Regions from separate parts of the Homo sapiens genome. Here all the other regions are linked to region 3. The links are contacts of gene promoters, found by promoter capture Hi-C in blood cells and fetal thymus (Javierre and others, 2016). All regions are on one chromosome and are shown on one strand. Each heading gives the region's core, a stretch centred on a gene start or on the middle of the fragment in contact. The rest is flanking DNA. Distances are from core to core; before and after follow the strand shown. Region 1 has its middle 230 kb from the start of HIVEP2. Region 2 overlaps HIVEP2-DT (HIVEP2 divergent transcript). Region 3 holds the start of VTA1 (vesicle trafficking 1). Region 4 overlaps HIVEP2 (HIVEP zinc finger 2). Region 5 overlaps HIVEP2 (HIVEP zinc finger 2). Region 6 has its middle 650 kb from the start of GJE1. Region 7 overlaps AIG1 (androgen induced 1).

Region 1 (4,135 bases), core at 357-2,856, 570 kb after region 3:
CAATATCTAAGATTCAGCAAGCTTAAAGTTAAATATGTCTGTGTTAAGGAAATGGATGTCTAACCCCAAGTCATTTCCTTATTTTTTGAAATCCCCTCTGAATTGGGAATGGGCATTCTTATGGGGTAAAGAAAATCCTATGAAATCTTTTTTGAGACAACAGTATCAATTGATAGCTAAGCAGCTGTCCCTCAGATAAGCATTTAAAATCATGGAAATATCCTGAAGGTCCAGGGGAGATGATGAGACATGCTATGTATCATTGCTATTTATAAAGGATGTATAACTTACTTGGAAGTTACCAGTCTGTGTGGGATATGTGAGACCTGAGGAATGGTTCTTCCAATGGCAGTGAACTTCCATTGATCATGGACTTCCTGAGTAACCAGCTGTCTCAAGCCTGCTTCCTCACAGATCTTTCTCCAGGATGCTATCCCAGAATTCCAGTCATGAAGTCACCACTTTGGGATGTCATCTGCTACAAGTTTTTGAGCCAGCAGACCATTGAGCACCTGCCAGTTGCCAAACTATGGATGGCATAGTGCATTTTACTCCCTGCTGTCCCTAGAAGCAGGCACAATGCATTTCCAAGGGCCTGCTCCAAGAACCCCTCTCTTTGTAGTGAATATGCCTAGTTTCCAAATCCTGATCCCTCCTAGTCTGACCGTATCTGCTACCTCTTGAGCCCAATCAATCAAACTCTGTGTGCCTGTGGATATATGTTCATGTGCACACATATGTTCATGTGTGGATGCATGTAAACTCGGAGAATGATACAGCAGAAAATACCTTAACTAATTAGCCCGTATTTTTTAGATCTTCTTTGTCTTGTCCTAGGGGTCCTACAGAACCCCTTTAAGGGCAGAGTAGCTTTAGGAGGAGAAAATGAGGAAACTCAGAAGATTTCAGGGACCCCAAAGCCCCACAACAATTCAGCTTTCTGACCATCAGTTTTACATGTTGACTTTTACAGAAAGAATGTTTTTGAAGAAAGGGCACTCTCACTTTAAGCAACAAAAAGAAAACAACAATGGTTGAAAACCAGAGATTCTAGTCCAACTCCTTTGTTTTACAAGTAAGAAACTCATGAAGAAATGAAGATTGTCCCACAGTCACATAGCTATTTAGCTACAGTTGGAACTAGAACTGAGGTTGATTGATTCCCCAACTGTACATTTTCTATTCACCACACAACAAGGAGAAAGGGAAAAAAAAACAATACTGGTGTGCTTGTTGCATGCATTAGTGATTAGGATATGTCTCGATGACAACCTAGGATTTAAATGCCAAGTGAGAATGTGGGAGTGGAATTGTTCCATCCTATAATGAGTCCCAAGAAATCTTGAGCAAATGAGAGAGTAAGAAAAGGACTGAAATCTTGAGCCAAAGGAAATTCTTTCTGGATGTGTTTGGTAACCTTCAGCCTACATTTTCACTAGTAAAGAGGCAGCATGAATCCTAAATGGTCCTTGTAAAAAGCTTCCAATCAGAAACATCAAGATGGCAAGTCACCTTATAAGCCAGTAGATTTCAGAGCTTCTTGTATATTTGATATTTGTTAAAAGTGTTCATAGAGTTGTGGCAAGGCTTCTGAACAGAATGCAAACTGCATCTGGTCAAGAAAACTCTAGTGAAGAAAGCTACTAAAGCCAATTGGGATGGTCTTACTGATCAGAATCTTTTGTTCATGCAGATATACATGGACCTACAGAATCATGCTGAAAAGGATTCTCCTAAGCTTTAAATCTGTATTTGGTTTGCAGTATGAATGACTAGGAGCAATACTCAATCATGGATGTGGATTAGAATCACCTGGGGGGCCTTAAAAAATACTGCTGCCCAGACTCAACTGAAAAGAATTAGGAATTTCCGCAGGTGAGAGTTGGACATCAGTATTTTTTTAATGTTCCAAATGATTTTAATATATGACCAAGGTCAAGGACCACTGAGTCAGAGGGTTCTCAAAAGAACCCAAAAGATAAGGAAGGAAGAATGAGAGGGAAAGGAAGATTACTGGGTCCCGATCAACTAAAGTGATGCTCTGTCAGATCACTTTTTGTTGTTTGAAGAGCACCCTTTCTCAGCAAACATAAGTGGTGAGTGACCCACATCACCAACAGAACCGTGCTAGGAGCATGTGGCTGCCATGCTCCAACCCTCAAAGCCTCACTACTCCAGTGGGTCTTGCTCTCGGCGTGAAACAGTCTCCAGAATTCTGCCTGAAAGGTAACCACCCAGCTCTCACTCATGACCCCTGCTTCCACTTCTAGGAGCAGCTAATTTTACCCCCATCTCTCAGGAAGACTTGAACCTCTCACTGAAAAGACACCTATCTTTCACCACCATGAGTATAAAAGAGAATGTTCTCATATGCCATTGTTTTTTATGAGTCCCCAATGGAATCCCTCTTGCTTCTTCTCACAGCCTCTGTCTCCAGGTAAAGAGAAAGGAGACTCTTCTGGTAATGGATATTTCTTCTCAACTGAATCCTTTTTTTTTTTTTTTTTTTTTTCATAAGAGACAGGGTCTCACTCTGTTGCCCGGGCTGGAGTGCAGTCACAGCTCACTGAAGCCTCTACGTCCTGGGCTCAAACAATCCTCCCACTCAGCCTCCTAAGTAGCTGGGACCTACAGGCATATGACACCATACCTAAGTTGTTTGCTTTTTGTAGAGACAGGGTCTCACTATGTTGCCCTGGCTGTTCTCAAACCCTGGCCTCAAGGGATCCTCCCACCTTGGCCTCCCAAAGTGCTGGGATTGCAGGCATGAGCCACCAAGCCCAATCTGAATCCCTTTATAACACTTGAATTTCCAGTAGCCAAAAGAAACTCCAAAGACCTCTGCTAGCTTTGGTGAAAGCTCAAATGCTGCAGTCCCAACCCCCTTTAGGGGATGCTGCTCATCACCTGCCGACAATGTCCAAATCGCCTACCCTTTCAGCAAGCAAGCATTCCCTTCACTTAACTCCTCACAGAGCCCAGCACGTTACAAAAATATGGCAGCCTGGCAGCCTGACTTGGTTGAGAGTGCAATTGCTCAGCCTCCTGGACTGCTTGTGTTCCACAGCCCTGACAGCTGTGAATCTGCCCCTGGGAGGGAGGCCAAAGTTCTGAGGGAGGGAAATTGGAAGTGGATTTATCCTCCTATGAATATCATCACACCCTCAATACCTGTGCGGTTTTGTTTGTTTGTTTGTTTGTTTTTCATTAGCAGGAGCTAACAGAAGGCATATTCTGTGGAGTGTCGGGGAGTGGGGTAGGGGGTGGTAAGGAGCTCCTCTGAGGCAGGTGGGGCAATGAGATGATAATAATTCCAGGAGTCAGAAATTATGAAGTCTGCTCCCAGCTTCATCAGTCATGTGCGTGGGACCAAGGGCAAGTGTCCATTTCCGCATTTCCAAAGCAAAATGGTCTCTAAGGAAAGCACAGTGGGGATGGCATGGCCTTGCCATGCCTGCAGCTGGGGAAATCTCAATAGAAAAACAACTGGGGCACAGCAGAAATTATCTGAGGAGTCAGAAGGCAATATAAGGAAAAGTTAAAAGTACTATCTTCAGTGCTTTAAGAAATGAACAAAGGAATAATTATATTAAGGGAATAGTGTATGAAATTCTTTTCCACAAGAACTGAGGCTACTGAATTTCAGGAAGAAACACAATTCTTAATATTTGGATCAGGCATTGCACATGTAAGAATTGAATGTTCCCATTTCCTGAACATGCAGAGCCTTTGTTCTCCATATGCTACCTCTATGCTCCCTGCACGGGCTTCTCGTCAGAATTATACAGAATGCCCAAATGTTGGAGAACTGGGATGATTTTGCATCTAACAACTTGGCTTCCAATTTGGATCCCCTAGGAAATGAAATTCCAAGGGGAGATTTAGTCTAAATGAAGCCCCCACAGGAAAAGCTTGCAGGGATGCCAGCTCTAGCTTTTCCAAGCTCCCGCAGTAATGCTGAGAACGACAGGCAACCAACCATCAAGAAGAGACAAAGAGCCAAATGTGTTTCGCAGATCTAATCACACTGTGAGCCTGCCGGTGAATGTCTAAAGATGTCCCTGTCAGCACAGGCTGCTCCATCATGGACCCAAGGAAGCCCCATCACTTGGGATCTAAAACTGGCCAAACAGTA
Region 2 (3,703 bases), core at 1,195-3,694, 800 kb after region 3:
GTGACAGGTTCTTGCTCCATCACCCAGGCTGGAGTGCAGTGGCATGATCTTGGCTCACTGCAGCCTCTCCCTTTCAGGCTCAAGCAATCCTCCCACCTCAGCCTCCCGAGTGGAGGGGGAGCCACTGCAGATCTGGAGCAAATCAGCACCAGCCACTCCAGAGCCTGACCTACATAGGACTCAGAAAGCATTGTCTATTGTGATTGATTATTCCTGTGTTCAGTCCCAATGGCCTATTGATTGGGGGTTTCTCTCCAAAAGGCTGCATGGCTTTTCTTCTCTAAGTGAATCTCCTTTATAACCCATATTTTATGTCTATATACCAAACATGCTATCCATATTTAGTCAATGTCCAGTTGCTTGCATGTAAGGGCAATAGAGTAATCAGAAAACTCTTCCCAGAAAGCCCCCGAAGACAAAACTAGTACTGGTAGAAAACTGGGCATGCAGCTCTAAGAAACTCTATGGGAAGTGAGGCTGGGTGGGGCACAGCTGCCCCAGCCTGGCACCCATATGGAGCATCAGCAAGGAAGTAGGAACTTTCTTTTCATCATGCATCCTTCTTATCACTTCTCAGTTTCAAAGGGAAAGAAAATTTGGTAATCTGCATTTTGAGACATTAAGAAAATAAAATAATTAATGGCTTCATGGTTATATGGCATTTTTCAGAGTATTGTCAGAAAATCATTTCGAACTGAAATTTTCATTCAAAAATATTTATTGAATGCCGGCTATGTGCTGAAGATTCTTAAGATACATCAGTGAACAAATCAAAGTTCCCTGCTTTCTTGGAGCTTGCATTCCAGCGGGAGGAGAGGATTTGGAGGAAGAATGGGATAGACAATAAATGTAAGTAATAAATTATATAGGACTTTGAAAGGTAAAATGTTTGGGGGAAAAACATAAAATAGGGTAAAGGATATAGGTGGGGTGAGGGTTGTCCTGATGCTGTATTAAATAGGAACATCAGAGTAAGACTTGTTGAAAAGGGAGATTTCTGCCATGGTTTGAAGGAAATACCTGGAGATATCTGGAGGACAGAGCTTTTCACATGGAGGGAACAGCCAAGATACAGCTCCAATACCTGGAATTTTTATAGACATCAATGGGAATGGTGTGGCTAGAATAAAATGAGACAGCCAGTGAACAGAAGGCCTCTCAGGTCACCGTAAGAATTCCAGAAAAGCTTCATAAAAGGCAAATTTTGGGCCTTTATCACTCAGCCCCATGGAATCTGAATCTTTGTGGGCCCAGGACTCTGCATTTTTAACATGTAAAGCAATTGTTACTTATGTATTCTAAAGCACAAGACCTCCTGCCACAGAGCATGGGACCTGATATATCCAGGCAGGAGAACTGGGTACCAGGAGACACTGTACATGAAGTTTCCAGAACCAGCCATGTCCATCTTACTAATCAAGACTCTCTCTGTTAAATCTGCAACTCAAATGACTTTAAGGAAAAATGGATTTCATTGATTCACATAACCATCACTCAAGGACTAACTTTCAACATAGTGAGATCCTGAGGCTCAAATATTATTACCCGGTAAGGCCTTCTCCATCTCTGTTCTTATCTCTCTGCTTCACTTTGCCCTTCAGGCAAACATTCTGCAGGTTGGTGGCAGCATTCCCAGATTATCTTCTTCCTAGATAAGCAACACAGCAGGAAAAGACCTTCTTTCCAGATAGCTCAGGCAGCCTTAGTCATGTCATTGCACCTGAACCACTTGCAGGTCTTGGGTGGAGTGATCTGATTTGGTCATGACTAGACCTGAAGAGGAGAAGGTCCTCATGGGGAAAAAAAAAAAAAAAAAAGCTGTTCCCAAAAGAAAGGAGTCTTGCAGACCAGGGGGCGGAAAGTATCCACTATATCCCTTAAGTCTTTTGGCTTAGGTTTCCCTATTTTTTATAACTAGGGATTTAGTCAAGATGATGTGCCTAATTTCCTATAAATTCTATATAAATCATTGTAATAAAGTCCCCCCATAAAATTGTGCAAAATGAATTAACTGGCATGCCACTCTCTCAGATAAATTTATGGTACTATAAATAAGACATTAAAGGGGTTACCTGCTATGGGATTCTGATGAATAAATAGAATATAGCCTTAGGTCTTAATAAAGAGTAATGACTTAGAACTGCCTTTCTGATGGATCTCTTGCTTCCTACTTATCTGCTTTAATTAGTATATGGAGGAAAATTAAGCAGTGTCATGATTCATGTGATGTTAAGAATACATAGGTCCCCAAAAATTAGTTGAAGAAAAGAATTTGGAGGGAAAATCTGCATGTCTGTTGAATCGTCAATAGGATACAAATCCAATCATTCTAATGTAGACAAGTCTTTTGATCCCACTATACATCCTTTGGCTCAGGAGTGGAGGGTGATAGTGGTAATGAAGGACCGATCAGCCAGAGCCATACTGTGATTCAAGATGACATCTGTTAGGATTGAAGGATAAAGTGCTTACCCTCATGGGTTTTACAAGGCACACAGAGCATGCAGACATCCAACTAACCAAATGTCACCCTGTATTCCAGAGTTGCTCGGAATATATTCCAAAGACCACTTGTAGCAATATCTCTTGCAATGCTCAATTAAAAGCCTGGGCTACCCCCTAGATTTATAAAATCAAAATCCTCAAAATTAGGGCCTGGGAAACTCCATGTGAATAAGATCCCCGATGACTTCTATTCTCATTAAAGTCTGAGAAGCATCCCTTTACATACAATTTCTAGCTCACTTTGTCCCTCAGATTGAATGGGGGCTGGCTGGCTGAGAACTCCCTTCTTCCCTGTTTGTCACATTCTTCAAATTTCACGTGATCCTTTATGACAAGTTGGTCTCTTTTTCTCCTTTAAAGATATTCATGTGGCTCTTATTTTAACCAGATTTCTTCTGTACAAAAAATATGTCAGGAAAGAAATGATCCCATGAATGATCCAGCCCTGGGGATGAGAAGGGTGCAGGGGAAGGAGGGAATGGTGGGCACGGAATATACGAATGCATAGAGGGCGCGAGGGGAGGGAGAGGTCAGCTGTGGGGATGAGCAAGATGCAAGCAAACTTTGATGGTTTTCTAGCTTAGCTTAGGACCAACCCTGCCCATAGTTTATGGAAGGATACTGCATGTTTCTTCAGTCCAATCTGCTGTGAAATGCTTGTTATATTCTAGAGAATGCTCAAGGAATGCCCAGTCAGGCCTTTATTCTGAGGAAGCTCACTGATGTCTCACAGATAACCTTCTTAAAGATGAACAAATATCAGATACAGGAGCAGCCAGTAAGACTGTCCAGGATTACCAATGCCTGAACTGCCACCTTAGATACAGGGAAATGTAGGCTTATGATACAATGTTAGCAATTTAAGAGCACCACATTAACATCATCCCCCATCCTACTTTCTTCCATCACCCTCCCCCAACTCCAAAATTGGTTAGAACTGAAATTCCTCCACTTAACAGTCACTGCTTGGGGTTAAGGCTCTGCCTCTGTAGAAATCTTCCCGTACAAGCTAACTACAAGTGGTAGGCTCTTCTTATCCTAAGCTCTTAATCAGTCATTAACTTCTTATGAAAGATTAATTTATTAGATTGCCTTACAGAGTGACAGCTAGCTTAGTGATCAAACTGATTTATCTTGACAAAGCATAGAATGGAGATAATATAGGAAGGTCTGGAGGGGGAGTGAGACAGAGAGATCC
Region 3 (4,155 bases), core at 177-2,676:
GATCCCACCTAGAACAATTAAGTGAGAATGCCTGGAGTGGGCTTTAAAGTTGATCTTTAAGGGCAGCTGCGGTTGAGAATCAAGAAGTAATAGGAAACAAATAAATGAAAAGTTGTGAGTATAGAAAGAAAACAGTTATGGTTATCCAACTCTGCTTTTCTTCATTGATTTCTCTACCAATCTAGCAACTTTTGACTGGAAAGTCCAAATAGTGGGAGTAAGAGAAAGAGAAAGAAACCATACATTCTCCAGTGGTAGGAAATATGCCGCTGAGATTGGGGAAGAAGACAGAACTGAGTTTCAGGCTGAGTAAAAAAGCCCGACCCAGAATAAGATGATGGACTTTGCAAATAGGTCTAGGCAACGTATGTGGAGTGGGATAATATGAGGACATGGAGCGGTTTCTTCTGGGGGTGAGAGAGTGATCAGAAAATAGTAGGCAGAGGGGAATTTCCGAGCTGGAGATTTTGGCTCTTGGGGATAGTGTGATTTCAGTGAAAACTAGTTTTAAGATGAATTGTCAAAACTGAGGACTGAGATAAAATAAAGAAGGTTATTGGAGGAAGTAAATAAAGTGTACAGTCCTGAAAGATATAAGTAAGGGATGGAGAGGAGAGGAAGAGAATTGAAGTCATTGAGGGTAGAAGGAAAAGTGATGCCTACTGTACAATGGTTAAGAGTTACCAGCGTTGAAAACGTCCCAAACACCCTATCTTACATTAAGACAAGATAATAAATATGAAAATACTTTACAAATTGTTAATCACTCTCCAGAAAAAAAAAAGGTGATCTACAGATTATTCATTCACTAAAATACGTACTAGCCAGCTGAGAACAAAAGTTCAATCTTCTTTAAGCTTCATATGTTTAGCTTAATTTGGCGCGAAATCTGATTATTTTATCCAGTATGTCAACATAGAAAAATTTAATTTACAATTTAAACACATTATTTCTCTCTCATGCAAGTATTGAAATTAAAGTTTCTAAAATCAAAAAGGCTTCTAAAGGACACTGCTATATGGAATATTAATGTGGCATATTAACTGGAAGTGGTAATTCCTGAATGACGCCAAAGGCAATTCTCGCCTTTATACTTTCTCCCAGTCAACATACATTATTTTCTTGTTTTTCCTTTTCTATCCTTCCTTTTGCCACAAACAACAAACCAAACAAAAAAGCAAAACAAAACAAAAACCCTTCCTCCTACCAGCAGAGAGCGCTAGCGCCATGCGCGGCATAAGCGCCAAAATGCTCGGGTCTTCTGTGGGTTCTAACCGCCGAGAGCCAAGCACCCTGAGGTTGTCCCAGCTGGGGATCCGTAGTTGACTTGACGTCGCTGAGCAACGGAAGAGTGGGCAGCATTTGCTCTGAACGCTCGTGCGCGCTACCGCCCAGACGGAAGCGGAAGTGCCGGTGGAGCGCGAGTAGGAAGTGGTGAGTTCGGAGTAGAGATGGCCGCGCTTGCACCGCTGCCCCCGCTCCCCGCACAGTTCAAGAGCATACAGCATCATCTGAGGACGGCTCAGGAGCATGACAAGCGAGACCCTGTGGTGGCTTATTACTGTGAGTCTTTCCGAGTGGCCGCGCCCTTTCTTTCCCAGTTGCATTTTAGGGCCCACACACCTCCCTGAGGTTCTTGGGGCATGCCCCGCCCCCCTCGCTTTAAACCTGAGCTTTGACCTCGAGCCTACCCAGGGAACTCCCTGGGTTCCCACCCCCTGGCAGTAGGAATCCCAAAACACCATGGTGTCCACTGCTTCTCCTATCTTGTGCTTAAATGCTCCAGTACTGACTACACAGGCTCTTGAACTGTGGAATATAATCTTCCAAGGTTTTCTCTGTGTGTGTACACACAAGAGCTTCTTGTCTCAAATAGGAATCCTGAAAATAAATTGAGTTAGGTTTAAAACGAAGGTGAGTGTCCGAAAGAAGGAGTGATGTGGATAAAAGGACGATAGACTAGTTGAAAACATAGTAATAAGTGAATATTATTTATGACAGCATGCAAGCCCAATCAGAAACTCATTTGGTTAAATGGGGAGTATCTGCTACTAAATAAGCAGTTGAATTTGACCTTTCCCCACCCAGCTGCTCTCTCCTACCATGCAGAATTTTTAGTTTTGACTTCTTTGAATAATACCCGCTGTTGAGACCTTTGAAAGCAGTATTTTCACTTTGAGTGTTATACGTTGAATTTACAGTTTGATTAAAAAAAATATAGGTTAACTCTGCTCAAACTTGTAGTGAGTAAAGGGAGTGCCAGTAATTCTGTGTTAACTTTATTTTGTATTCTGTACTCTTAACTTTACTGCAAATAAAACAAGTAACTGGACAATTATAATTCTGAAAAGGATATTTAGAGTTGAGAAGTTGGATATAATGCGTCCATTGTTGTGTATATTGTAAGGTTAGCTAAAATCTGGTCACTGTTATCTCTGCCATACTCCAAATGTACCCTGTTTCTCAAATGTGCAAGGCCTTTTCAGACCTACCATCTTCCACTCTCTTGGAATGTGCACCTTTTTCTTGCACTTGGCAAACTCATGATTCAAGATCTAACCCAAATGTCACCACTTCTGTGGGCAGCAAATTGATTATTCTCTGTGCATTACTTCATTTTGTTCAAATTTTACAGCATCATTTTTATTATACTTGTTCTTCAGTTTCCTCAAGCAGGGTCCATATTCATTCAGTATGTGTTCATTGAGCTACCTTTGTATCAAGCATTAGTAGGCGCTGTGACTACATTTGCTGCATTTTTGGAGCTTACATACAATGGAGGTAGAGAGTTTCAACAATATAGAGTCTATCATACATAGAGTATTAAAAGCTTATGAAGACAAATAGAGCAAGGAAAAGGAATAAGAGTATCAGGAGTAGTGGTGGCAGGGAGTGCAGATGGGATTTCAGTTTCATAGTGGTCAGGAACACTTCACTGAATTGACATTTGGGGAAATAAAAGAGTGAAAGGCATACCTTGCACCATCTGGGAAAGAGTATTCTCCATAGAGGTTATAAAAGTCCCGAAGTAGAGGCTTGCTGGAAGGAGGAGTAAGTAGACTATTGTGACTGGAGTGGATGGGGCTTGGGAGTGATGGGATAAGGTCAAAGAATCTCTCATCCCTAAAGGAAATTCCTGTTCCCGATCCCTGTATCATGTATCTTTGTGACAAACCAGGGACACCTTACTCACTGTCGTCCTTTCCCTCTAGATTTTTCTAAACCTAATCCAGTTTCCTTTATTTAAAAATATAACATAAACTCTCACCATATCATTCCCTAAAGTTGCAGCTCTGCTTTTCCAGCCTTATAGGTAAGTTTGAAATAGTTGTCCATAAGTTAGCTTTACGCCTTTATCTTGTAGAGCCTTTCAGCCCATGCAGTCTGGTTTTCATGCCCAGTATTTCACTGAAACTGCTCTCATCAGGCTTATGAAGAAATATTTTTATTGCTCAGGTGACACTTAACAATTTTAGTTATGAAACATGTACATATAAAAGCATATGTAATGTGCAGACAGTTTAAGGAATAATAAAATGAACACTAATATGCCTATCACATTTGATGTTATTAAACTTTTTAATTTTTGACAATCTGGTGGGTGTGAAATGGTGGTGTCTCATTGGAGCGAAATCTGCAATTCTCTGAGTCTTAATGAGGTTTAGCATCTTTTCATATGTTAATTAACCATTTGTGATTCGGTTTTGAAATACTTGTTTATTGCTTTTGCCCATTTATCTGTCACAGTCTTGTCTTAATAATGTTAGATGTTAATCCTTTGTTATATGTGTTGTAAATATCTTCTCCCATTTCAGTTTGATTTTTCACTCTGAAGACCTTTGATGTTCAGAAGTTCTTAATTTAAAAATGTTATCAATCATTGTATGAATCTCTTAGGACTTAACCTTCTGATTTTATAGGCTTTCATTTCTTTTCGTGTATTTGTTTGGGACTTTGGCTTTCTACATCTGTAGATGGGTGTTTTTAATCAATTTTGGAAAATTTTCTCTACTATTATTTGTTCAAATATTGCTTATATTTCTATTCTCTCATAAAAGTTTGATTAGACATGTTTTGCACTTCTCCCATTTAACTTCCTTGTCTCTTGATTCTGTCATTTTTTTTTATCTCTTTGTCTTTCTGTGCTGCATTCTG
Region 4 (4,004 bases), core at 366-2,865, 710 kb after region 3:
CAATGCACAGGATAGTCGCCCACAACAAAGACTTATCTGGCTCCAAATGCCTAACCATGCTGGAGCTAAGAAAACCGGTAACATTGTAACTCTGCTGCAATAACTTTTTGGTACATGTCACTAGGCTCCTGATGTTTAAGCAAGTGATTATAACAAAAATCCTTTAGACTAATTGTATTACTCAAACTTCATCCTAAAGATCGTGCTCAACCAAGAGAAATTCTACAAAAAAACCCATAGTATTCTTCAGAATTACAAAGTGTGACATTTGTTTTTTAATTGAAGATGTCCAATCAAGACAGCCGAACTTTAGGAGGCTGGCAGAAAGGGCACGGGATGAACTTGGTATCACCTGAATGTAACTGAAATTTTCCAGGGAAGGCACTGCACAAACTCCTCTGTGAATGTGAACCCTGCCACCAATGCCACATCCTGCTTCTTAAGCTTTTCCATAAACAGCAGCTGTATTCCTCCCCAAGCATCAAATGACAACCCAGGAACATGCACACGTTCCTGAAATGCTCGCAGCCACCCAGTATTAAAGCAATAATCTCCCCCAGGGAAAAGTCCTACTGGGCCGGATGTAGGAAAAAGAATGAAAGCAGGCACAGCTTTCAGGTCCACTCCACCACAAATGACTCCATGACCCGGGCAAGGAACGTTAAGTAACTTCTTTCTGGTCCTTTTTTTCCTCAACTAAAAGCAGAAAAAGTTTGGCTTAGTCATCTGCAACTTCACTTTCAGTTCTCACCACCATGCTGGTTTTCTTCCCAAAAGGTAAAGAGAAGGGAATTGGCTCCAAAGAAAGTAGGTAAGAGGGAGCTTATGAAACCCGCTTCATTAAGGGTCCCAGTCACATGGAGTGTCTGTGGGCTACAATAGATGAACCACCCACGTGGTAAGTTCACCCACAAGAGCAACTTTTTTGAACACAGGCAAAAGCTGACCCCAAGCTTGATAGGCGAAGTCTCCACTGAGCTCCAGGCCACATGAGAAATGCTGACTGTGAGGATGAAGGACCAATCTTTGTGTGTGCACAGCAGGGAAAGGACTAATCATTCCACACTGGCCTCTTCCGCTACAACCTTCTGTACAAGTAACCGTCATCCCCAGAGCACCATCTTATCATTAGGAAGGACAGAAGAAGAAGAGTACAGTGTGTTTTAAACTGTCTTTGTGTTATAATAAAAATCACAAACAAAAACAAAATGGGCACAAACAGTATGAATTTGAGGAGCCTTTAATTTTAATGGGCAAATACTTAATGTATTAATAACCACGTGGTAGAAACCAAAATTAGTTCTGGGGAACCTCTCAACTATACTGAATTATCTGCTGAGATAGGTTTTGTTCATGGATCTACAATAAGAAAGGAATCTGTTTTCCTGAGTCTCCCCACTGAGTTTTTTATGCAGTGCTTCTGTTCATATGCTTAAGTGAGCCATTTAAAAGGAAGAGTGTCAACGTTGGACTCAGGCTTTACTGGTATGAAAGTGTAAAATTATATTTGTATCCACAGATTTCCAAAATCTCAGTATGCAAACTTATTAAAAATACACTATGGTGGAGGCATATATAAGAAGTGAAAGTATTCTTTCACTTATTTCTTATTACTGCCAGTTCAACATTATCACAAGCTCACAGGGCTATGTTTTCCCAACTGAAACACCAGGATGTTAATGTGTCTGAAATTTGAGACCTTCTGATAAATTATGCTTGTTTGCTGGTTTTGTTGTTTTTTGGTGTGTTTGTTTTCAGTAAAAGCTGGCACTTTATAAAATATCTGTCTTCAGTATTTGACAACGCTTGACAACCATTCTCTCGTTACTTTTTACCACATCCTGGTAAGGGGGAAATGGCAGGTAACTGCATCGCTTTTCACTAAAAAACAGACAGCAAGGGGTTAAAAAAAAAAAGAAAAGGAGAATTTATGTCTCCCAGTTCCACCTACTGCACCACTTTAATATCCAGGATTCTCCCCAAGCCATTCCCAGAGAAAAAAGTGAAAAGAATCTCCTTTGACTTGCTTGGGTCACTGCCCCCAAGACACTGAAGACTCAAAGATACTGAAGACTTCAATGTACAATACATTGGTGGTGAAACTAAAAGTCATATGCAAGGAGTTGACTCCCCTCTCACTGCAAATAATTCTAACATGACCGATGTGCTACAGAAATCAATAGCAGTAATGACTACCTTTTTTGGAACTGCCTCAGCAGTCAGCTGGAGAGGGGGCCTTGCTAAGCCCAGGCACACTGCCTGGATCAAGCACTGAAATCAAGCTTCACAAAAGAGAAGCGTGAGTAATTTACTTATTAAAGAGATAACTGTAAAGTCTGATACAAACAGACAAGCGTAAAGCCTTCAATGCACAAACCAAATGCTTGGCTTGGAGACCATAAAATGCAATCAGCAATGAAATCTAGGTTATATCACTCAACTTTCAAAAGTCTAATGCCCCTTTTTATCCTTAGAAAGATGACACAAAGAAATGACCTGTGAGGGAGACTTCTGGTTAGCAGGGGCTCCCCAAAGACACTGAGCCCACAGCAGGAAGTGGAGGGGAAACCTCAGTGACTGGTCCGAGACCAACCTGGACTTCCGTGTAAGGTACAATGCAGATAAAGGGGATTACTGTACTTCAAGTGGGTTCTGAAGCATTCTACATTATTCAAAAGGACAAAAATCTAGTCAGGTGTTGCCCAAATGGTCTCCTCTGTGATCATTTTTCTCATGTTGTTCAGAAACGTAGTGGTGATAGTGCATTTGTGAGACTCTGTGGCCAGGAAACAACATCTCTGTAACCCCAATTTTAAAATCATGACTTCACTGTCACCAACCAGCGAATGCCAAAAATAAAAAGGTAGAAACATCTAAAACGCTGTTAGAAAGTGAAGCTTGAGTTCATGAGCAAATTAGAAAAAAAAAAAAAGTCATTTGCCATCAGATGTTGTCTGTCAACTTAAAAAAAAATCCAAATAAAAAGAGAATTCAAACAGTTCTTCTACAATAAGCTATTGTATAGCCCCTAGATCTAAGTCATTCACAACTCCCGGAAATAACTGCATATTCGCCAAATGCTCTTATTTTGTATGTTCTCACGGGGTTTCAGGACTTGTGCAAATTGTTTTCCAAGCACCATCCGGCCATAATGACCAGGTTAGAACTGATAATTATGCCTGCCTGTCTATAGGTTTGTCAGCTAAAGAAATCCACAGACGGCTGCATCATGAGCAGAATTCTACTTCGGGTGCAGCTGCGCTGACCACACTGCATTAGAAAAACAACCCTCTTTGCAATAACCAGTTTTGGGCATCACTGGTTAAAAAAGACTAGTTTCCTGTTTTTCTCCAAAACTTCAGAGTGTGGGTATTGCTATTTTTTACCCCACCCACACATTTTTCTTTTTAATTGTTGAAGATTAGGTGCTGTAAACACCTAATCATGAGCATTTCTTTATATTAAAACTCCAGGTTTAATTTTAGGTCGGATTTGTTCTTTCCACACGGGGACTCCCCTTTGTTAAGACTTGTGTGGCTTCTCCTGCGGGCGGGGGGAAGCCACGGGGCTGCGGGCTGCTGTCTAGGAGGGGCTGGGGTCGGGTCTTGGGTCTGGGAACTTATCTATGGCCCAGTGTTGCCCCAGGCAGCTGTCCCCCACCATTGGCTTCCTGATGGCCCAGCTATGCATGGTCCCCGGCAGGGATGCTGCAGCTGACCTAGGGCGACAGGTGGTTGGGGGAAGAGAGGCTGTTCCCCCTAGAAGAGTATCTCAACCCAGGCTTGGGAAACAGCCCTTACTGATGAAGGCTGGGGGACTAACAGTGACATAAAGCATCAAGATCCCAGACATATCATCTTATTTCTGTTTATACTATGCCGTTTCTCTTCCTCACTTTGACATGTTATTTCCTTTCTTTCAAGAGGAGTTTGAAGTATATGAAGGCAGTGCACACTGTAGCAGGGCTGCTCCTGGTGCCTGACCCCCTCACTTCACTCTGGCCC
Region 5 (4,050 bases), core at 1,396-3,895, 730 kb after region 3:
TACACTATCCAGCAGGGAGCTTTTGAGGAAGAACATGGATGTTGAATGTTGAGCACAGCGTCAATAATAAATTAGAGATGATTATTCTCTGAGCTCCCGTTATAATAAACTCCATCCTCCAACCTCTTGAGCCCTCCACTAGCACTGCAAATTCAACCCCATTATCCTCTTGACCTGCTCCTTCTCCTCTATCTCAAACTCAGATCCCCACTTGCTAATGCAAGACCCCCTTCTCTCCTTGGTTTTCACTTCTTCACAGCTGCTGGAGTGGCTCTTTGCTCTCATGTTGACTTTGGGTCCCTGATTCTCAACCATCCCAGGCCATCTGACTTCAGCTGTCTGAGCAGCTGCAGATCACACAGTCAGATACTTCATTAACACCCTCCCCAGGCTTCCACAGTCTCTTCTCCAGGCAGCCTTCCAGCCTCCTTCTGACCCTCCCATGCCCGTCTCCAAACATGGCTCACCCACAGGCTGCGTTCTGTTTCCCTGGTTTAAACTGCAATCCCAGCAAAAGTCACTCAATAGTGCCACATGGGCCATGATCTCTGACTTCCAATGAATTCTTTGAGGACCAAGACTATGTCTTGTTCATATTGTATCTACAGGGACTAGCATAGAACCTGGCATATAGAATACCCTCAATTGAACACCAATTTCAGTGAATGAAATTGATAATTTGGAAACTCTATAATTCATCTCTCCTATAATGGTGCTTTTCTTGGCGTCCACCTACCCCCTCACTACTCCTCTTAGTCATCTTTATTAGATTCTATTATTCATTCGTCCCCAAAGCAGGAATATTTCCCAGGATTCTAAACTCAGCTCTCATATTCTCTCTTTGCTCTCTCTCCAGCAGAGAACAGTTCCCACCAGCAAACACAGTAGAATGTCAAGACATTTCAGATATTCACCCTCACTAGGACCCAAATTCAATGCTCCTGCCAACAACCCCATAACTTGCACCCTCCCCCAGATGGTGAAGCCACACCAAAAAAATTGACTCCAATGAGAAGGAACAAAGGTCAGAGAGGAATTGGACCCTCCCAGTGGAGACAGCTGAGCCTCAAGTGGGACTGACAGGCAAGCCTTTGCCACCAGACACAGTCACCAGCGTGTCCTACATTGATGACAAAGAAGCCTCTCTTCTCAGGGATCATTACTTGCCTTTAAAAGTCCAGATTCTCTGAGGCCTGGGAGCTTTATACCTTTAAAGGCATTCGGTGTCCTCTCTTTGAGACAGTCTTCCATATCCAAGAGAAAGGTTTGCTTCAGCACTTCATTACAAACGGGGAAAGCTGCCCTACACCTCTGAGATCCTAGTCCAAACCTGTCCATTTGGCCTGCGTGGCTCAGACTCTCTTTGATCAAGTCCCCAGGCAAAGTTCGGCCTACAACTGGGCTCTTCCTAGATTCCCTCCATCCATCAATGCCTTGGCACAATTTGAGGCCACAATCACAACTGCAGGTTCCTCACACCCTCATCTCGACAGAACAGTTATATAAAATAAAATGTGTCTTCTCCCCAGCAGTTCTGGTCTCAGTTACTGGCATTTCCATTCCTTGAACCACTGGGGTTCAGACGTAAGGCATCTTTAACATCTCTAGTACTCAGTTTGGATCAAGCATGAAATGTCATTTTTTTTCCCCATACTAGACTCAAGTTTCTTGAGGAAATAAGTTTTTATCTTATGCTTTATGGTTAAAATGCATAGATCCTCTTTCATGGTTTTACTGTATGTTTCTGAACCTTCTTAAGCTTGTTCCCTCAGGAGGGAAATAAATTCTTTATTGGACTATGCCATGTGGCCTTATGAATACCTCTCCACTCATATAAAACTAACCTAAATAACAGAAGGAAACAATTTTGGATATGGCCTTATCCAGTTCACACGAGTCAGGCTGTGATTTTATGGAAAATTAGGCACTTGTGGGCAATTAGTTGTTTAAATATCTATAAATCATCATGTCAATAATTTTTAAATGTCCAGTTAAAAATTTAAAAGTTTGGAAAGAGAATTTTTTAAGACTAATTCTGTAGCAAGTGAATTAATTCCAAGAAAATGAATGTAGACAACTAGAGCAACCAGATTTGAGACACAGTAAGAATGGCCCTACACATGTTATTAGAGTACATTCCTGTGCATCCTTTAGTTCTGAGGCAATCAGATAGTGTCATCTAACTTTAGTGAAGTTAGAAGAATGCCTTTAATAAAAAGTCTTGGACCTGAGTTCTGTCATCTGTATTCGAAAATATGGTCTCTGAGGTCCTGCTTTCAGCTATCAGGATAGTTAGACCTCACAGATCTCCTTCTCTCTTAGAAAATGTATATTCTTCCAAGTAAAAAGAGTAGAATAAAATATTTCCACTAAAATGCACTTATCTCTACATACTATGCCTCCTCAGAGATCTGTGTCTCTCGCTGAGTTCCCAGTCTCATGCTCTATGAAAGTCCTTCCTAAAAGCCACCATTCAACATGAGCTTCTAGTCCTGCTGACTCAAATGATGACATCTTGTTATAGAAATCTGAGTGCCTCACAGTGGATCTACACATCAGTTACTGATGGCCACTGCCAACCTCTGTCACAGGAAGATTAAGATAACACAGTTAAAGCTGTAAACACTGCCCTAATTATCAGAGTTTGCTACCATTATCAGGGCTGCAGGAGGACTCTACCCAGAGTCATCACGCTCTCTCCTGACATCATATATACGAGGTCAGAGCCTTTCAGCTCCTAAGCCCCAGCAGACAAGCTCCAGTGAGCAGAGCTTATCCTTAAGCCACTGTCAATACAATGTGTAATTTTGAGTATAAAGCCCATCCATTTATTAGGCCTTATATTCTTCATCTATAAGGTGACTACAGTGAAGTATGAAACATTTTAAAACTTGGATAATCACTAAGAAGAATTCCTAAAGCTAAAGAGTCCTTCAATACCGATAACTCACTGATTACATAGAAAAGAAGTAGAAGAGGCAGAGGGCAGTAGCTCATGCCTGTAATCCCAGCATGCTGGGAGGCCAAGGTGAGAGGATCACTTGAGGCCAGGAGTTTGAGATCAGCCTGGCCAACACAGTGAGATCCTGTTTCCACAAAAAATAAATAAATAAATAGCCGGGAGTGGTAGTGAGCACCTGTAGTCCTAGCTACTTAGGAGGCTGAGGCAGGAGGATCATTTGAGCTCAGGAAGTCAAGGCTACAATGAGTTATGATCATGCCACTGCACTCCAGCCTGGGTGACAAAGCAAGACTCTGTCTATAAAAAACAGAAAGGGGGGGAGGGGAGGGGAGGGAAAAGAAAGAAAGAATCATATATTCCCTCTCAGAATGAGCTTTAGCAATGGGTCATTCCATTGTTCTGACAGTGTCAATTAGGAATCTTCCTAATTTTGAGGGTTTCTCTTTATCGTTTACATAACGCTGGCGTAATGTACCTTTAAGAAGGTAAAATTCAGTGTCACATTACCTCAATGTTTTAGGTTGGTTTTTGGTGTTAGCTTCACTCTCCTAAACCCTGCAACACAATAGGAAGCTTAGTGAAAGGACCACATATTAACCAGGAAACTCCATCACCTGCACTGACCAAAGCTGATAAACTAACCACCCATACTACATTCAAATAGTCTGATCATCTATAAGTAATAAAAGTGTCTCCATAGAAACCAAGTATACAGGGAAATCTGCTTACAGTACAGGATCTGCTTGAACAAAAAGACTTCACTTCAAGCCAAGATTTTGCTCTAACTTAGGTTTACACATCATCATACACGGATAGCATTCGATATCACACCTTTGGAATTTCACAGTCCTGAAGATTACAAAAAGCTCTGCACATGGAGAGAGAAAGGGGGGAAAAGCTTTGGGAGAAAAGATTTGCATATGTAGTTACAAAAATACCAAAGCAGATTCCATGCTAAGCTCTGCCAAAAAGAGAACAATTACTGTTGCCCATCAGCACGCAGCCTTGAAATTATATTCTCTTCTCCAAGCAGAAGCAGTCATCAGATTATCAAAATGAGGTTATCCTGACTCAATTCAAATAGTTCT
Region 6 (4,037 bases), core at 1,083-3,582, 660 kb before region 3:
TATTGTAACAAATTGCTAGGTCTCAGCCAGTCACAGCCGACTAGCTTCAGCCAATCACAGGCTGCCAATTGATCAGACCATGTCCAAACAAGTAAAAAATGCTAAGCTGTAACCAACCAGTTTCTGTACCTTACTTTCATTTTCTGTCCATATGTACTGCCTACCTACTTTGCAGAAGTGAGATCTCTGAACCACTCTGCTGGCTCTTGAGAGCTACTGGATTCCCAAATAATTCTCTGCTTCATTAAACTCCTTTAAATTTGTCTAAAGATTTCCTTTTAATACATTTCATCTCATTTTTATTTTTCTAAATTTTGATAACTTTCATTGACTTTTATCATAAAAATCAAGTCTAATACAAAATAAAACAATATAAAAATAAATGTATTGAAATTATATCAATTTTATTTCCTGACATATTTTCTTGATTTATATCATTACAAAAGATAAAAACTATCAGCATGGAGTTTTGAAACCATAAAAAATTTTTTTGAAAGAATGAGGAAAAGCAGCAAGAACTTTGGGTGTGATGGAGGTATGTGGTTAATTTAATAGGACTGATTTTTTTTTTAATTCTGGGATTTTTCTCACATAACCATATAATCTATTTGAAAACCAGATATTTACTAGAAGAGAGTGGCAAATATCCACTACTGAATAGATAAGAGTTTAGACATTAAAACTGAAAGCACTCTTAAGTATTTTACATGTAAAGAGGTTTAAGACACAGAACTAGTGGCCAATAAAACTGCTGAGAGGTGGCAAAATGACAGTCAGAAAAGCTGCTTTCAAGATATTTTTAAGTGAAGGAATCTCAGGAAGCCATTAACAATTATTTTAGTTGCCTACCACACCTAAGAAGATGATTCTCAGGAAGATCTCCAAAATCAATGGGCAAAAACCCATGTCTGCCATTTGTCAAAGCCCACACATTTATCCTCAGCCATGGCATGAGAACAATGGCTTCTGCTCTTCTACAACACCAAGAAATTTTCTCTTATCACTTAGATACAACTGAACCCCAATGGCAATGAAGCTTGTTTCCAGTCTTTATGTCCCTGTGAAATAAGAAACAACTTACAAATTTAGAGATGATAATACAGCAACAATATCTGAAAGAACTACACTTGAACACAAGAATTCAAACCCTAAAAGTAATAAAGTAATACCAATAATGATGTTATTTCACATACAGCTGTTCAATTGGATAATCACTGAATTGTCCTTACCGTTTAATTTATTTTTCTCCAGACTTACTCTATATGAACTATTCAACAATAGCAACAAAATAAATCAATAAATAATAAACAAGAGAGGTGAAGAATAATATCATGTGATTGATTTTTCTCTTCTTGAGAGCTTGTTTGGAAGTTCTAGCAGGGAAGCCCATCTACTCACGTGCCCTTGACTGAAGATGGGTCCTTCTCCATCGCGGATGGTCATCCTCTTTTACCGAGCACACAGCTTTGGAAGGAACGCATATGGAGTGGTGAGGAAGGAAGGGAACACCTGTCTAGTCAACCAGATCTGCTGCACCAACCCTGGCAATCAAATGGTTGATAGATGTTGCTCTTAGATTGCCCTCATATCCATAATTTTTCTCTTCTTCTTCTTCTTCCTTTTACCAAAACAACTACAACAACAACAAAACAAATAACTTTAATTTTGAAATGGCATTATGAGAAAAGGGTTCTGTATCGTGCTAATCCTTTTTTTTTTTTTTTTTTTTTTGAGACAGAGTCTGGCTCTCTCGCCCAGGCTGGAGTGCAGTGGCGTGATCTCGGCTCACTGCAACCTCTGCCTCCTGGGTTCAAATGATTCTCCTGCCTCAGCTTCCTGAGTAGCTGGGATTACAGAAGCTCACTACCACGCTCAGCTAATTTTTGTATTTTTAGTAGAGACGGGGTTTCACCACGTTGGCCAGGCTGTTCTCGAACTCCTGACCTCATGATCCGCCCACCTCAGCCTCCCAAAGTGCTGGGATTACAGCTGAGCCACCACACCCAGCCTGTGCAAATACTTTTTATGAGGAAATCATAGAAAAAGTATCTGTTAGTTGACAGGCAGTATCCATATTACAGTGTTTGGTTTGAGCACTTGAGTTGTTCTGAAGCTAGGTTACCATGAAAATAAATACAGTGATACTTGGAATCAGAGAACACATATGGTCAGCATTTTCCAGATGGCATATTTATGTCAAATGTATAGACATTATAAGAAAAAATATTATAAGTCAATATTAAGAAGACTCTCTAAATATTTAGGTAAATACAATGCACTGTTCCCTCCGCCCAGAAATAGAGTATGATCCTGGCACCTTGCCAAGAAACACATAGAAATATCCTTGTACGTTGTGCTTATAGTAGATAATCTGAAAAGTTTCATCCAAATCTTAAATTCTAGATATGAATAGTTTGTAATAAAGTGTTAGAAGGATCAAGATTAAAAATTATTTGCATATGGTTCCCAACGCCTCTTAGTAATCAGTGGATGATAAGTTCCTTGTAACTTATTTTAATAAAAAGTCTTGAGTACAGAATGTGAGTATATTATAGACTAAATATTTATATTCCTTCCCCCAGATTCATATATTGAAGGCCTAACTGCCAATATGACTGTATTTGTGTATTTGGGGAAGAAGCCTCTACAGATATAATTAAGGTTAAATAAGATCATTAAATTGGGACACTAATCCAATAGAAATAATGTCTTTATAAGAAGAAACACCAGAGAGAAAAATAACTTTCTCCTCTCTCTCACTCTCTCTCTTTCTCTCTCTCTCTAGCTGTCTCTCCAGGAGGACACAAAGAAAAGATCAAGACAGCATGTAGCAAATGTAGCAAGGAGGCATCCAATCATCTGCAACCCAAGGGGCAAACCCTCGCCACACACCAACCCTGCTGGCTCCTTGCTTTTGGACTTCCAGTTTCAGAATTATGAGAAAATACATTTCTGTGTTTAGGCCATCAAGTCTATTGTATTTTGTTCTGACAGCCTGAACAGACTAATACACAGTATAATACAATTGAATTGTTGATTCATCTAAGAAATATATAATTTCTACATGGTTTGTTGCAATTATCTGGGAATAAATATTACCATGACCACTTATTCAGAACTTGATATCTGTATTTATTTCTAAGCATGCATATAATCCCATTACTTGGTAGTCATTTGAATGTATGTTCCACACTTACACCAAAAAGTGATAATAGTATTGACTTCATATAAGAAGTCTTGATAGTCAGTAGTATTGACTTCACATAAGAAAATATTATAAATTAATTCCAATTCCAATTTATGAAGATATTATAAATTTAATATCTCTGAATGTAAATTCTCGGTTGTTCTAGATATAAAAATAAATTATTGATTTATTTTGCTAAGCTACTATAAAACACAATAAAATTTAAAAGCCTCAATTTTGCTGATTGTTTACTATTACAAATCATGCTGGAATGGACATTCTCATATTCTGTTTAGTCTTAATCCTTCCCCCACCAAATCCAATGGAGTCAAGGATTTGGACACAGACACTTTATTTTGAAGTTGATCCCAGGCACCAAAAATGAGAAAAGAAAGAAAGGGAAATAGGTAAGAGAAAAGGGGCAATAAAGTTACGTCTTAACAAGCTTGAGTACCACAGTTAACAACTGAGTCACAATCCCACTGGGGATTGTAAGGAACATACCTTGGGTTAGTTCTACCCCAGTACAAGGAAGCTACAGGATTTAGCCATTGCCTTTTAGCCCCAATTGTTGAGGATTTCCCTTAAGTAGTGTTAACACAGGCACATACTGAGTGTTCCTGTGTCCAGCATTTCTATCTCATTTGTTTTCAGAGAAACGGCTTAAGTGGAGAAGGGTGATGCAGAAACAGGAAGTTACAGTCTAGCAGCAGGTCAGTAGCTGTTTAAAGGAGCAGTAGGTGAACTCATCAGGCCAAAGGGACAGGGAGCATTTACTAAATTTGCACATATGTAAGAGTTTCTCTAGTGTACACATTCAGTAATGATTTCATTACTGAGCTGTCTATGG
Region 7 (3,840 bases), core at 857-3,356, 920 kb after region 3:
AACCATAGTAGAGTCAGCTTGATATGCTGTCATATAATTTATCTTTTAGCATTCAATGATTGGACTTGCCTGTTTTAAATACTAATCACCATACAGGACTTTTTCTATCCCAGAAGTCAGACAGTAGATTCAAATGTGAAACATTTACTTTGCTTCATATTTAGCTTCAGATTGTATAGGACCTTTAGCCAGCGTTGTAATTTTTTACTCTGTGGCTCCTGATTGAAACATAATAATTATCTTTAACAAAGAGTGCCTGTGAGAAAGTATGTCTGAGATATATTCATAAAAACATTCATGCAAAGTGTTATTCTTTTTATTATTTGAGATTTAGAATCCTTAGAGCTTAAGCATTGTACAGCTGTTAAAACAACCAACCTGTCAATCCTCAGTAATGGCATGAAATGATTAGGCTACTATAATTTAGCCATTTTACTTTTCACTTTTAATGTTAAAAAGACCGTAAACTTTATTACCTAGTGCCTTGTACAATATTAATGAGTCTAAGTTTATTGGAGTAATTTTGCAAGAGTTTAACTTTTTAAAATTGTAATGTGAAGGCCCTTTTTTCTAGCCAACTTGGATTGCAGGAATCATTTATCCTGATAGCCACAGTTGGATTCCATATTCCATGGCTTCAGTTTACCAGGATCTGAGTCAGGAATCTCAGGCTCTATGCATCCAGGAGCAGATGATTATGTGGCAGTGGCCATTCTGGCTGTATTCATTTCTCTCCTTGGGTATGAGGGTCATTCCAGTAGATTCAGAGCTTATGGTCAAAAACTGAAATACACATTGTTGCTACCAGTAATCTTATACTGTTATTCTCCAATGGTTTCTTTTCCTAGTATTGAGAAACTGTAAGAGAACTAAGGTGTTTTTGGAAAATTGAAGTTAGTAAATGGAAAAAGAACACTGTCTTGGTGTGGTAGGCAGAATAATGGGCCTCCAAAGATGTTTACATTCTCATGCCAGGAACCTGTGAATACATTAGGTTACATGGCAAAGGGAAATTAAAGTTGCAGATGGAATTAAGATTGCAAATCAATTGACCTTAAAATAGGGTAATTATCCTGAGTTATCCCATTGGGCCCAATGTAATTACAAGGGTCCTTAAAAGGAATAGGGAAACAGAAGACAAGAGCTTGTTGGAGGAAGATGTGACTGGAAGAAAGTCAGAGAGAGATACGACAATGCTGGGTTTGAAGATGGAGGATGGAGCCAGGAGACAAGGGGTGTGAGAGGTGTCTAGAAGCTGGAGAGGACAAAAAAATGGTTTTCCTCCTAGAGTTTCCAGGAACACATACCTGCTGACAGCTTAATGGTAGTGTATTTTGGACTTCTGACCTCCAGAATTGTAAAATAATAAATTTGTGTCATTTAAGCCATTCAATTGATAGTAATTGGTTACCACAGTAATAGAAAACTAGTATACTTGGCTTTAAAGCCTCTGACTTAGAAAAAAAACTTAACTCTTTTTGTACTTATATGAAATAAATGCAGTGACTCAGCTAGCCCTTTATGTATAGTAGATAACTGGTTAATTTTAGCTTTAACAAAAATGCAAGTTTTTTCCTACTTCATCCATGAAATTATGTGGAGGAGACATACATATGTGTAACAGTGGGCAATATGAGGATTTGTAAAGACTGGACTGTCAAGCGTGTCTGTGTGAAGAGACCACCAAACAGGCTTTGTGTGAGCAATAAAGCTTTTAATTCACCTGGGTGCAGGCGGACTGAGTCTGAGAAAGGAGTCAGCGAAGGGAGATGGGGAAGGGGTTGCTTTATAGAAGTTGGGTAGCTAATGGAAAATTACAGTAAAAGGTGGTTATTTATTGTTAGCAGAGAAGGGGGTGACAAGGTACATGGTGGGGAGATCATAAGACTTATTGTCCAGAAGAAGAATGTCACAAGGTCGGTTGATCAGTTAAGGTAGGGCAGGGACAAGTCACAACGGTGGAATGTTGTAATGTTGGTTAATCAGTTAAGGCAGGAATTGGCTGTTTTACTTCTTTTGTGGTTTTTCGGTTGCCCCAGACTTCTTGGCTCCTGCAGGCCATCTGGATGTATATGTGTAGGTCACAGGGGTTACAATGGCTGAGCTTCGGCTTAGAGGCCTGACATGGACAACTTTGGAAAAACTAGGTCTTTACTATGAAGTATTTCAGAGACTATCATTAAGTAACATGTCAGGCCAGGAGAAGAAATACACTTAATTGGAAATAAGCTGGAAAGAAAGAAAATTTAAACTAGCTGTTACTCAAATATTAACACTTTCTTAGTCAATATCACAGCTGATGAATTTTCTTCAAGTGATGTGGATTCATTCACTAGCAAAATGATTATGCTGTGTGTTACATGATAATTGCCCCAAAAGATAATAAAGAAGAATTAGGATAAAACCAACATAAATAAATGAAAAGAAAAAGGCAAATGTATTTTGAGGTCTTAAAGTAGTATTTGGGGTATAATAGGTGTTTAGTAAATGTTTAAGTAAATGGAAGCTTTCTCTTCCCAAATTTTCATTGAGTATTCTTTTCTTGTCCTGTCTCCTCCCAAAAACATTCAAAATGATAGGAATTTAAAAATGTATCAACCAGAACATTATTCATATGTATATGGTAGAGTCTAACAGATGAGTCAGAATCAACTTCTTTGAAAACCATGAACTGGATTTTTTAGAAAACTTAAAATATTGATGATGGATGTAAGACATCTTGATTTTTAAAGATTGAAACATATCTGGGAATCCCATTGGCTCTAGTTTGTAGTACTGGCCATTTTGAGAGTCATCCTCTCTTAGGGCCGTATCATACCCATTATTCCTCCTAGACTGGCTTTTCATTCATGTCATGGCAGAATATTGTTCAGGCCCTGCCTACTCAAAGTGCGGGCTGAGGACCAGCAGGATCAACTTTGTCTGGGAGCCTGTAAGAAATGTGGCATCTCCAGCTCCACCCCAGAGCTTCTGAATCAGAGTCTGCATTTTAATAAGATCATCAGGTGATTTCTATGCACATTCAAGGTTGATAAATGCTGCTCTAAGTTGCATTGTTTTTTCATTTACATGGATTAATTGTAGGACCCTGTAGAGCAGTCTTAATATATGAATTCTGCCTATTTTCTTTGTTTTTTTTTTGAGACAGAGTTTCACTCTGTCACCCAGGCGAGTGCAGTGGTGATCTTGGCTCACTTCAACCTCCGCCTCCCAGGTTCAAGAAATTCTCCTGTCTCAGCCTCCCGAGTAGCTGGGATTACAGGCACCTGCCACCACACCTGGCTAATTTTTGTATTTTTAGTAGAGACAGGGTTTTACTATGTTGGCCACACTGGTCTCAAACTCTTGACCTCAAGTGATCTGTCTGCATTGGCCTCCCAAAGTGCTGGGATTACAGGTGTGAGCCACCGCGCCTGGCCTGAATTCTGCCTATTTTCAAAACATATTACAGATTGACTTTCACTGTGATATAACAAAAAAATGTAAGAAATTACAATTTGAAAATAAAAGAAAGATATGTTTCAGATACGAGAGATGGGTTAGTTATTGCTATTGAGAAACAAATTTAAATAATCTTCAGGGCAACTAAGGTGAAAAACAATACACATTTGATTGTATTGTCCTTATGTTGAAAGAAAGGAGGTATAACAATTTATTGGGAAAAATACAGTTCTTTCCAGGCACTGACTTTTCAAGGTAATTTATCACTCAGATATTTATTTAAAGAACATTAAGGGTGGGTATGGTGGCTCACACCTGTAATCCCAGCACTGTGGGAGGCCATGGTAGGAGGCTTGCTTAAACCCAGGAGTTCGAGACCAGCCTGGGCATCACAGCAAG

What was found. Contacts are between HindIII fragments. The CHiCAGO score rates a contact against its expected background, and 5 or more counts as called.
Region 1: a contact is called between a fragment that was not itself captured here and the fragment with the promoter of VTA1 in region 3, in 1 of 17 cell types (monocytes). The highest score is 6.3, in monocytes.
Region 2: a fragment that was not itself captured here is called in contact with the fragment with the promoter of VTA1 in region 3 in 1 of 17 cell types (fetal thymus); the score reaches 7.2 in fetal thymus.
Region 4: a contact is called between a fragment that was not itself captured here and the fragment with the promoter of VTA1 in region 3, in 1 of 17 cell types (fetal thymus). The highest score is 5.3, in fetal thymus.
Region 5: a contact is called between a fragment that was not itself captured here and the fragment with the promoter of VTA1 in region 3, in 1 of 17 cell types (fetal thymus). The highest score is 5.5, in fetal thymus.
Region 6: a fragment that was not itself captured here is called in contact with the fragment with the promoter of VTA1 in region 3 in 1 of 17 cell types (total B cells); the score reaches 5.2 in total B cells.
Region 7: a contact is called between a fragment that was not itself captured here and the fragment with the promoter of VTA1 in region 3, in 1 of 17 cell types (fetal thymus). The highest score is 5.0, in fetal thymus.

What each region holds. Positions count from the first base shown.
Region 1 is chr6:142,711,124-142,715,258 of GRCh38, forward strand. No RefSeq gene overlaps it. Among named protein-coding and RNA genes, the nearest start is that of HIVEP2, 230 kb to the right of the region's middle. The HindIII fragment of the contact is 259 bases long and covers 1,478-1,736 here.
Region 2 is chr6:142,948,844-142,952,546 of GRCh38, forward strand. HIVEP2-DT (HIVEP2 divergent transcript) reads left to right here. Exons shown (of 3, transcript XR_001744397.3): 1 at 1-849; 2 at 1,305-1,548. Among named protein-coding and RNA genes, the nearest start is that of HIVEP2-DT, 4.2 kb to the left of the region's middle. The HindIII fragment of the contact is 2,521 bases long and covers 1,185-3,703 here.
Region 3 is chr6:142,145,837-142,149,991 of GRCh38, forward strand. It overlaps VTA1 (vesicle trafficking 1), which reads left to right and starts at 1,427. Exons shown (of 8, transcript NM_016485.5): 1 at 1,427-1,563. The coding sequence starts at 1,452. It overlaps NMBR (neuromedin B receptor), which reads right to left and starts at 1,286. Exons shown (of 4, transcript NM_002511.4): 1 at 1,208-1,286. RefSeq lists enhancers at 1,156-1,450, 1,214-1,353, 1,608-2,128. The HindIII fragment of the contact is 1,973 bases long and covers 856-2,828 here.
Region 4 is chr6:142,854,300-142,858,303 of GRCh38, forward strand. The region is part of intron 1 of HIVEP2 (HIVEP zinc finger 2); the gene reads right to left. Among named protein-coding and RNA genes, the nearest start is that of HIVEP2, 89 kb to the right of the region's middle. The HindIII fragment of the contact is 1,329 bases long and covers 952-2,280 here.
Region 5 is chr6:142,879,352-142,883,401 of GRCh38, forward strand. All of the region lies in intron 1 of HIVEP2 (HIVEP zinc finger 2), which reads right to left. Among named protein-coding and RNA genes, the nearest start is that of HIVEP2, 64 kb to the right of the region's middle. The HindIII fragment of the contact is 1,776 bases long and covers 1,758-3,533 here.
Region 6 is chr6:141,484,822-141,488,858 of GRCh38, forward strand. It overlaps the pseudogene RN7SKP106. Among named protein-coding and RNA genes, the nearest start is that of GJE1, 650 kb to the right of the region's middle. RefSeq lists a silencer at 3,778-3,978. The HindIII fragment of the contact is 2,596 bases long and covers 1,035-3,630 here.
Region 7 is chr6:143,063,154-143,066,993 of GRCh38, forward strand. All of the region lies in intron 1 of AIG1 (androgen induced 1), which reads left to right. Among named protein-coding and RNA genes, the nearest start is that of AIG1, 4.2 kb to the left of the region's middle. The HindIII fragment of the contact is 795 bases long and covers 1,710-2,504 here.